2 separate regions of the Homo sapiens genome follow, and region 2 is linked to region 1. The links are contacts of gene promoters, found by promoter capture Hi-C in human tissues and cell types (Jung and others, 2019). All regions are on one chromosome and are shown on one strand. Each heading gives the region's core, a stretch centred on a gene start or on the middle of the fragment in contact. The rest is flanking DNA. Distances are from core to core; before and after follow the strand shown. Region 1 holds the start of NUDT4 (nudix hydrolase 4). Region 2 overlaps LOC105369896 (a long non-coding RNA gene).

Region 1 (4,872 bases), core at 1,528-4,027:
AGATCCTTTCCTCCACAGTGTTAAAATCCATAGCCCTCTCAATTACTCTTCCACGCTTTGAGGAAAAGGAAGACAGGGAGGAGAGATCTCCAATGGAAATTTCCTTGTTAATAACATCTTATGTTTCTCTAAATGTTTTACAGTTTCAAAGCACTTTCAGACTCACTCTGGTATGTTAGTTAAGCCTTGTGCAAGATACCATAAATCATATTATACTCAATTAAGAGGTGAGAAAAGACAAGGCTCAGAGGTGAAGCAAATATAAATAGTAGTAATTAGTTTTATATATATATATAACTAATATATATAACATTCATATATATATATATATATATATAGAGAGAGAGAGAGAGAGAGAGAGAGAGAGAGAGAGAGAGAGGGCGCAATTGGTACATGTGAGACCTGAAGCCAAGATTTTTAAACTAAGTCCAGTGGCCAAGAAGCTGAAGCAAGTAGCTCACACTCACTGCCTTGGTGTTGCTGTTTTTCCTCCCTTCCGTGATTTGGTTCTAAGCATCTTCCCTTTTTTTTCTCAGTTAATTCTGATTCATGACTTCCCTCATGTAATTAATAAATGGGAAAGACTTGAGTGAACAAATATTCAGCCAACTAGTATTTATTGAGCAACAACTAGAAACCAGAACTTTGAAGGGTTTTAAACAAAGGAAATGGAATCTCTTTGTCATTTAAAAGGCCACAATAAAACAAATAAAAGTAAAAAATAAAAAAGACCATAGTGAGGAGGGTGCAGTGGCTCACGCCTGTAATCCCAGCACGTTGGGAGGCTGAGGTGGGCAGATCGCCTGAGCTCAGGAGTTCGAGACCAGCCTGGGCAACATGGTGAAACTCCACCTCTACTAAAAAAATCCACAAATTAACCAGGCATGGTGGCATGCAACTGTGGTGGTTACAGGTACTCAGGAGGCTGAGGCCGGAGAATCCCTTGAGCCTGGGAAATGGAGGCTGCAGTGAGCTGAAACAGCACCATTGCACTCTAGCCTGTGCAACCAAGCCAGGATTAATAACTTTATTGATGTGAACCAATTATCCAAAAATAATAATCACATATTAGCCATAGCGGACTCCCCAGCTAGATGTTTTCTGCCTGTGTTTGTAAATCCTGGACATAGTTAAATTTCAAGTGCCTTCAATAAGAAATCAATGGCTTGGAAAACATCTCTGCGCAGTCTTGATAAGATTTCTAATTGTGGTGAAGCCTCATTCCTTAAATTATTTATTCAACACTAACCCATTCTACAAACTTACATCTGCTGGGCTCTGGGAGTAACAAGATGAGTTAGATGCAGCAGTCCCAAATCTAAAGGAGGTTGGAGACTAGAAAGACCAGTGCCTGCTCTGAGCTCTCCAGTGGTCCCCAGCCTCTCAGTCAGGCCTCACAGGCCCCTCTGCCAGAGGCGGAACCAGCTTGCCTCCGCTCTGCAGCCACACTGGCCTTTTCTTTCATTTCTGAGAACTCTCCTCACTCCCTCCCACTTTGGGCTCTGCAGAAATCCCAGTTCCCTTTGCCTTGAAAGCTCTTGGTCAATTTAGCTCCTCCTCCTTCAGCCCTCAGCTCCTGCCTTGCTGCCCCAATAATCTTTTTCTGACTGCAGATCTGGTCAAATCTTTGTCTGAAACCTTAGAGCCCATTACATTTGTAGTTTTACGTGTACACGTGTGATCATTTAATATTTGACGGTGTGCTCTCAGGTGCCTACGCTCCTGGAGAGGCAGGGGCTGACTGGTTTTGTTAGATGCCAGTGCCTGACACACAATAGGCCCTCAAGGGGTGAAAAACCAACCAACCAAGTCAGGACCCAAGCAACCTGGGCCTCTGTGGAAGGGCAGAATGGCCTGAGTTTGGGTTTCTCGAGCTACCTTAAGATCAGGCCTCCTGGCTCCTATCTTAGCCCTTCTAACACTCTGAAGTGTAGAGGTTGTTTGTTCCAAGTCCCCAAGGTACTGTAAGCTCCCAGATAGCAGAAATCCCATTATATTTTAGTGCTGTGGCCCCAGCATCCAGCTGCGCTGTTACTTAGCATGAGATCCACATGAAAACCATTTCGCAACTATTAGCCATTGCCAGTATTAATACTTTCCGGAAGGTGGCACAAAGTGGGGGATGTTATAGACAGCTTCAAAGAAACGTTTAAGCTAGAGTTGACTCTTTAAATAATACAAGCCATCCCCAACCAAAGATTAAAAATTTAAATACAAAAAAAAAAAAAGGAAATTTGCCTACCCCCCATTTGTGAAAACAAAGAAAAAAAAAACAGTTAACGTCTTAACTTTTCTAGGCCTTCACTCTCGCCTCTCCCCGCGCTACAAGGGCGAATTCTGGACGTATCTACACAGTCACCGCGGAGTCTGCAATCGCCGCGACGTCCCCTGGCATTTCTTGGCCAGGCTGCAACTTTGGTGACGGTGTATGTAGTTACATCCCCTGTAGTGCAGCTGGTATTTAGGGTCCTCATTGGCAAAGTTGAGGGTATAAGCAGGGAGGGAGGGGACCTTGGCTTCTTTCCATTCACTGGCATGTTTTCGGGGCACGGTCATCCCACGCTGGGCTCCAGCGCCAGTCCCAAGGCCTCGCCGAACTCCAGCCCGGGAGTGCGCGCGGCCCCGCCCACCGGGCGGCCGAGGTCCCGCCCCTACCTCCCCCGCCACACCTACCCACCCACCCCATTGCAATGGTCTCTGCACGCAGGCGCAGTGGCGCGCGGGGGAGGCGGGGCGCATGTGGGCTTCATTTAAACAGAGCAGAGGGGGCGGCGCGCGGTCGCCGCGGTGCTGCTGCTCAGTGGGAGCGGGTCTTCGCAACTGTCTCCGCGTGGCGCGCGCCTCTAGCCGCCCTTCCCCTGGCGGCTACGGCCGGAGGGAGCGGAGGCGAGCGGGAGTCGGGCTCCATGGAGAGCGGCGGACAACTGGGCAGAGGCGGAGCTTTCATCTCGGCACCCTGGTTCCAGTGACCCGCGCTAGCGTCCCGTCCCGCCCGCGTCGGAGCGGCCGCCGGCCCCGGGACTGACCGGCCTCGCCGCACCTCCCGCACCGACTAGCGCTCCCGGGCGCTCCTGCGCCCGACTCGCCCTCGCCCCCACTCCCCGGCGGGGTGGCGGCGGCCGGGCCCCCACGGCGGCGGCCGGAGCAGCAGCAGCAGCAGCAGGAGCCCGCCTCTATGATGAAGTTCAAGCCCAACCAGACGCGGACCTACGACCGCGAGGGCTTCAAGAAGCGGGCGGCGTGCCTGTGCTTCCGGAGCGAGCAGGAGGACGAGGTAGGGCGCCCGGCGCCGCACGCTGCCCTCCGGGGCGCCGGGGTCTAGGGCCCGGGTGCTTCCCCTCGCTCCCCGCCCCTGCGCAGGCTGCGGGGCTGGGAGGGATTAGCCCCCTTCCTCCCTCCCTCCTTTCCTCCCTCACTCCTTTCCTCCCTCACTTCTTCCTTCCTTTCTCTGGGCTGATAGATGAGACAAAGGGGGCTCGCCCAGCCCCAGTTTCTCCATCTGGGCACTCGAGAAGGCGCCTGGTCCCCGGGAAGGTCCCGGGCCGCGTAAGTCTCGCCTAGCGGGAGTCACCATCTTAACGTGCGAATTGAGTTGAAAGCCGGATAAACCTCGAGTGCTCAGCGAGAGGAGGGTGGAAATGGCGTGAGTGTTGCAGCAGAGCCCTTGTGCCTCTTTTACATATTTTCCTTCCATGTTACAGCCGTTTGCGGTCTCGGATTCGATCTAAGCATGTTTGTGGAGTAACAGACAGTCCTCGTGCTTGGAATTGAGTCTAGTCTTGGCAATTCTTGTGGGTCCATGAACCCGCAAGCTGTTGGCATAATTATGCCTCATTTTTAAAACGGCCTTCCCTTCTTAAAGTTTTCTGACTGCAGAAAAATGGTTAGTGAAAAATGTGGAATAATGCCAAAAGGGAGACGATGGACTAGAGATGGGCAAAGCTGCCATTTTCAGACAGTAATCTCCAGCTCTCAGCTTATGTATAAAGGGTTCTTTGCTGTCTGGCTTGACATCTGGAAAGGAGTAGCCTTTCTCGTTCTCAGAGCAGTCGTTCTTGGATAATTTACCCATCTGCATTGGGCTGAGAATGAGACCCTTGGGGTTTCCCTGGAGAGCGATTTTTACTTAATTCAGTAGTATTTATTTAAAATGGCTAACTGTTGAAGTTTGCTTAGGGCAATAGTAGCCTTTTGGTATTGCCACTCTTAAGATAAATTACATAGGTGAAAAAAATTAACATTCTGAGTTCTGCTTTCATAACCAACCGTGTATAAAATACTAGGCTAAGGCTGGAGATGGGAATTTAATGGCTTCCTTACTGCTAGTCCCTGTAGTTGTGATGAATATGACACAGAATACACTCAGTGGCTTAGTTCTTGTTATGTTAACGAAAAGTTCTCGAAATTTGCCCTTCAAACCCTTGTTTTGCCTTTATTTTTTTTTGAAAAGAAACCAAGCCCTTTAAATGGGTTGCTCTGTGCTCACTCATAACCTTTACGTATTAGACTTGAATCCCAAACGAGTGTGCAGAGAAATACGGCCCCAGCCTTTGAGATGGGTCTGCTTAGGAGAGCTAGAAACTGCAAAGGGAAAGGTTATTAACTTTTACAAAATGAACAAGTCAACAAGCATTAAGTGTGTTCTGTAAAAAAGATAAAGCCTTAGCGGAAAGGGGCCATGTTGAGGCAAAGTAGTAAACTTTAAATATAAAAGAAATGATAGCCAAAAGGGATCAAGATAGATCAAGGATCTTGTCTGGTTTCCTCAATATTGTGTAATGATATTCTTAATTGAGTGCTTACAATGTGCCAGGCGCTGCCAGAAGAAAACTTGTTATACATTTAATCCTTTTAACACTGGGAGGTAGTGAA
Region 2 (4,872 bases), core at 1,275-3,774, 1.8 Mb before region 1:
ACCTGAAATGATTAATTGGCTCACAAGAGTCATAAACAAAGAGTTCTGACTGTACTGAGAAGGCAATTAATTTAAATCAGGTAATTGAAGAATACTTCAGACCAGCATTGAGTCATAGTCTACCAGAAAGAGAATATTAACAACTCTCTGGACATTTCTTCTGCTCTATGGGTAATTTGGAGCTGGGGTACAGAGGATTATTCTGGTTCTTCGACCCCTGCATAACAGCATTTGTGTGCTTTGGAGAGTCCAGAGCTTAAAGGTAGTTTTATGCTCAAGGATTCTTCTCATACATCTTCACTCACTGTTAGAGGTCCCTCTCGCTCCCACCTCACCCCATCCATCAGTCATTATCTGCTATTCTAAAGCTTATGCATTTCAGAATCTAGGTCAGTCCTTCTCTTGCCATCTTGTCTTTTGGTGGTGGTGGTAGTATGTGTTTGTTTCTCTCTGTATTTTTTGTGTGTGTGTTTCCATTAGCTCTTTTTTTCCCCACCTGAAAAATTGATTTCAAATTTTGAAGAAGTTGGTGCTTGGCATTTTCTGCTAACAACACTTTGGTCAGAAGCCTTTGGAAAATGAAATGTTCACATGACAGAAAAGGAACATGAGATTTCCTTTAAAAATATGAAAACCTTAAATGTATATTACAAAGTGAAAGAAGCCAATCTGAAAAGTCTACATACTGTATGATCCCAGCTCTGTGACATTCTGGAAAGACAAAACTATGGAGACAATAAAAAAAAAAAAAAAGAAAAAAAAATCAGTGCTTGCAGAGGTTAGGGTGGGAGGATGCAATGAATACACAGAGTATAGACAATGTTTAGGGCTGTGAGACTATTCTATATAACACTACAAAGATAGAAACGTCATTATACATTTGTCCAAACCCATAAAATATGCACCAAGCTTGAACCCTAATGTAAACTATGGACTTTGGGTGATCATGATGTATTAATGCAGGCTTACTAATTGTAGCAAATGTAATAATACTCTGGTGGGGGATGCTGATGGTTCGGGAGGCTGTAGCGGAAAGGGGTACAAGGGAACTCTGTACTTTCTACTTAATTTTGCTATGAAACTAAAACTTCTCTAAAAAATAAAGTCTGTTCAAGAAGCTAAAAAATTAGTATGCACTGTTCTCTCTGCCCCACTTCTCACAAATTAGTGATTGCTCTCACACTCACCTAGTCACAGTACTATCTTCTGATTGTGTATGAGTCTCTGTTGTCTGTCAACCTGGGTAAGTGAAATTGTCTTTCACTTGGCAGAACATAAGTGGTAAGGAAAATCTTTGACTATCTTGGTCCACATGAAAAAAAAAAAAGATTCACTTGATTTTGCTTCCTACAATAAGTATTGTGCCTTGATGTATACTTCAAAGAGACATGGCACAGATAGAGAAAGGGCAAAAAGAAAGAAAAAAAAATCAATATGGGAAAATATCATTTCTGATTGCTGTGAACCATTTCAATGTTCCCTATTTGTTTTATCAATCAAAGAAAGACTCTGATGGTATACAGGCTTATTCAGCACCATAGAAAATGTGTGTTTATGATGTCCAGAGAAGACAGTGTGTCCTGGCCAGTCACCATGGTAACCTCTAAAAGCAAAGATTATGTCTGATTAGGTTGCCCTTCTCAGGAGGAACTGACCAGAAAAAATCTTTTGAAAAGTTTAAAATGAAAGGTAGGAAGATACTGGTACTAATTTTGCACAGCTGTTCTCCTCCCTGACTCCCTTAATAAGAGTGACTCACGCTATTTTCTAGAACCTTTTTTCAATCCCATAGAGAGCTTCCAAAGACATCCTCCCCTTGTTGAAAATGTACCTCAGCTCAGTCCTTTGTGGTTATTGTCACCACAGCCCATAATCAGAATTCCTGATACCTTTGTGATTGCCTGTAAAGAGATTAATGAATGTTCCGAAAGAAACAATTAAGGAAATAAAAGAAGTGAAACATAATCTGCTCTGAAAAAGTTGTGAAAGGAAGCAAAAGCTCAATCATGCCTCTCCTTCAGTGATTTGGAAGGCGAGCAAACGCCAGCAAGGTGGAAATATTGAAGAAGCCGGAAGACTACTTAATGTCATAGTTAATTTGTGGAAGTTATTAGTGCTCTTTGTATTAAAAATAATCCTTTTTGAGCAAGATTTGTGTTTTTCTCAAGCTTCTACAGCTAATACTAGTGCCTTTAAAGCAGAGGGTATATCAGCTATTCTGCTTTCGATTTCATTTTTTACACAATGTAATAAGTGAAATTATTGGGGAGTTACTAACATAAAGAGAAGTATCAAGTAGAGGAAATGATAGGTGTACTCCTACTTAACTGAGATGGTATATTCTTACTGGACTGATAGAATATTCTAGACTGGCAATATAATTTATGTAAAGTCTGCAAAATATTTGCAAACTTTTTGGTGTTTAATAGACCTAAAAAATGGGTGGCATTAAATGTCACTGTAATCATTTACATGGTAAATGTGATTATTTATTCAATTTATTGCATTAAAAAATCTGCATTTGAGCAAAAGATAAAAGCTAAGAGTCATTCTTTTCTCTCTTTTTATTGAAAGTAAATAGCTTTTTAAATTATACATGATTATTATAATAAATCTGTGGGAAATGTGGTAATATATATACAATTAAAACTGCACAACCCCTTTGCCTACAGGTTGATTTCCACGTGTACATGAAAATGTGTTAGATGATTCTCATTGAAGCAAAAGATACAAAGCTATATAAATGCCCTCTGTGGGCACCAGGTTTAAAAATTATGATGTATCCATATGATGTAACACAATGTTGTTTTCAAAAAGAGTGAGAACCTGCTATATAGGTCAATAAGGAATATTATCCAAATATCTTAAATGATGATGCAGCAAATACATAATGTCTATGATGTGTCAGATATATTCTAAATGCTTTTTGTGTATCAAATAATTTGATCCTCACGACAACTCCATTAAGTAAATACCCTTATAAGTCCCATATTATAGAAGAGTAAAGAGAAGCACAGAAAAGTTAGGTAACCTGCCCAAGGTAACACAGCTAGCAAAGGGTAATGACAGGTTTTGATCCCACAGTCTGACTTCAGAGTCTGCTGAGTAATACTGTAAAGCAACTGTCAGAACAGTGCGTGTAATATATTGCTAGTGTATGATTAAAAGAATATACATATACATACACACATACATATAAATACATACATATATATACAGTTGATCCTCATTATTCATGGGTTCTTCTACTTGCTAAGATATATTTGTATTAATAACTCCAAAATCAATACTTGCAGAACTTTCTAGGTTAAAGAAGGCAATGCTCTGCCCTCTTATTTCAGCTTCCATACTATAAACAAGTGTCCTTTTCATGGTCTATTTAGTGCCAAATGTTTCTCATTTTTGTGCTTTTTTGCTGGTGATTTTACTGTTTAAAATTTCCCCCAAGCATAGTGTTGAAGTGCTGTCTACTGTTCCTAAGCACAAGAAGACTGTAATGTGCCTTATGGTGAAAATATATGTGATAAACTTTGTTTGGGTATGAGCTATAGTGGCTGTGAGTTTAATGTTAATGAATCATAAATAAGATGCCTTCATACACAAAAACACACAAAACAAAGTTACGTATAGATCAGATGATGACACTGTTGTGACCAAAGGCTTTCAGAAACCTAACTCTGTATTTCCCATAGGAGCAATGGTACAGTAGTGACTAATTCAGTGTTCACAAAGACTATAGAACACACCTACTGAAAACAAACATTTTATATTTTTATATATATATATATATGTATGTATATATTGCCTAGCAAAATCTTACAAAAATGATGAACTATAAACTGTGGGTGTCTTTGAGAGGGAAATTAAGGTACTGGAGTTCAGAAATGGAAGATTTACCTTTCACCTTAAGAAATTTTATCATGTATATTCTTCATGAAAATATTTTTATGTAAACCGTACAGAGAAAGAAAAAGTTTTCCAAACTTCTGCCTAATCCCAACTTCCTGCAAATAGTTTCATAAATAATTTTTAGGCTTTTAAAATACAAATAGAAATATATTATTATATTCTATAGCATCTTTCTTTTTGAAACTTTATATGCTGAACTTCTAAATCAAAACATAAATGACTACCTATTTCTCCCTTTCTATGTCCCACCAAAAAGAAATAAAGCCCCACAGTCTCACACTAAGAAACAGAATCATGGATTTCTTTTTCCAGACTGTCCACCTACGACTGGCATTTCTGCAAGAGTCCTGTAACAACATTTTGAAGATAAAATCATGCCATGACTCTGAAATTGGAAGTACAGAACATATAAGAAAATAAATCAAGAAATGAGGGGAATCTCCCGAAAGGTTTTGCTAATTTTTATATTTTCACTTCTTAGCTCCAACCAGAGAATTTTTATTACAATAGAAGAGAAAATAATTTACTCCAAGTCAGTCACATATTAAGCATTTTCTAGATTTTACTTGGTCTTCATACTACTAAAAGGTGATATAATTATTCCTATTTACTGATAGAGAAAATAGGCTCTGAATGATTAGGCAGCTTTCGCAAATCAAATCATTCATGTCTCTTGAAAGCAAGATAAGGAGCCCTTTCCTATGCTCATCTTCAGGTGAATGTCCATAAATATTTTTGTACCAATTCTAATATTTGACTGTCATATCTGCAGGTTACTGGACCACTTTTTATTGTGATACTTAATTTATACAACATTAAATGGCCTCCAGTGTCCTCAAAGACTGCCTAGCAGATGTAATGTGGATATCCCAGAACACAATAATTAGACTTTTAGAGTCACAAACACACACCGCTCATTATATTAGAAACTGAAACTCTAACCATTTCAGTACTGCTCTTCAC

The links. Contacts are between HindIII fragments. The study calls those that stand out against the background at their distance.
Region 2: a contact is called between a fragment that was not itself captured here and the fragment with the promoter of NUDT4 in region 1, in 1 of the 25 tissues and cell types used here (dorsolateral prefrontal cortex).

What each region holds. Positions count from the first base shown.
Region 1 is chr12:93,375,148-93,380,019 of GRCh38, forward strand. NUDT4 (nudix hydrolase 4) reads left to right here and starts at 2,778. Exons shown (of 5, transcript NM_019094.6): 1 at 2,778-3,274. The coding sequence starts at 3,176. LOC643339 (a long non-coding RNA gene) reads right to left here and starts at 2,589. Exons shown (of 5, transcript NR_040096.1): 1 at 2,290-2,589. RefSeq lists an enhancer at 2,374-3,313 and silencers at 2,550-2,889, 3,110-3,409. The HindIII fragment of the contact is 9,866 bases long and covers 1-4,872 here.
Region 2 is chr12:91,572,956-91,577,827 of GRCh38, forward strand. All of the region lies in intron 1 of LOC105369896 (a long non-coding RNA gene), which reads right to left. Among named protein-coding and RNA genes, the nearest start is that of LINC02823, 250 kb to the left of the region's middle. The HindIII fragment of the contact is 3,773 bases long and covers 639-4,411 here.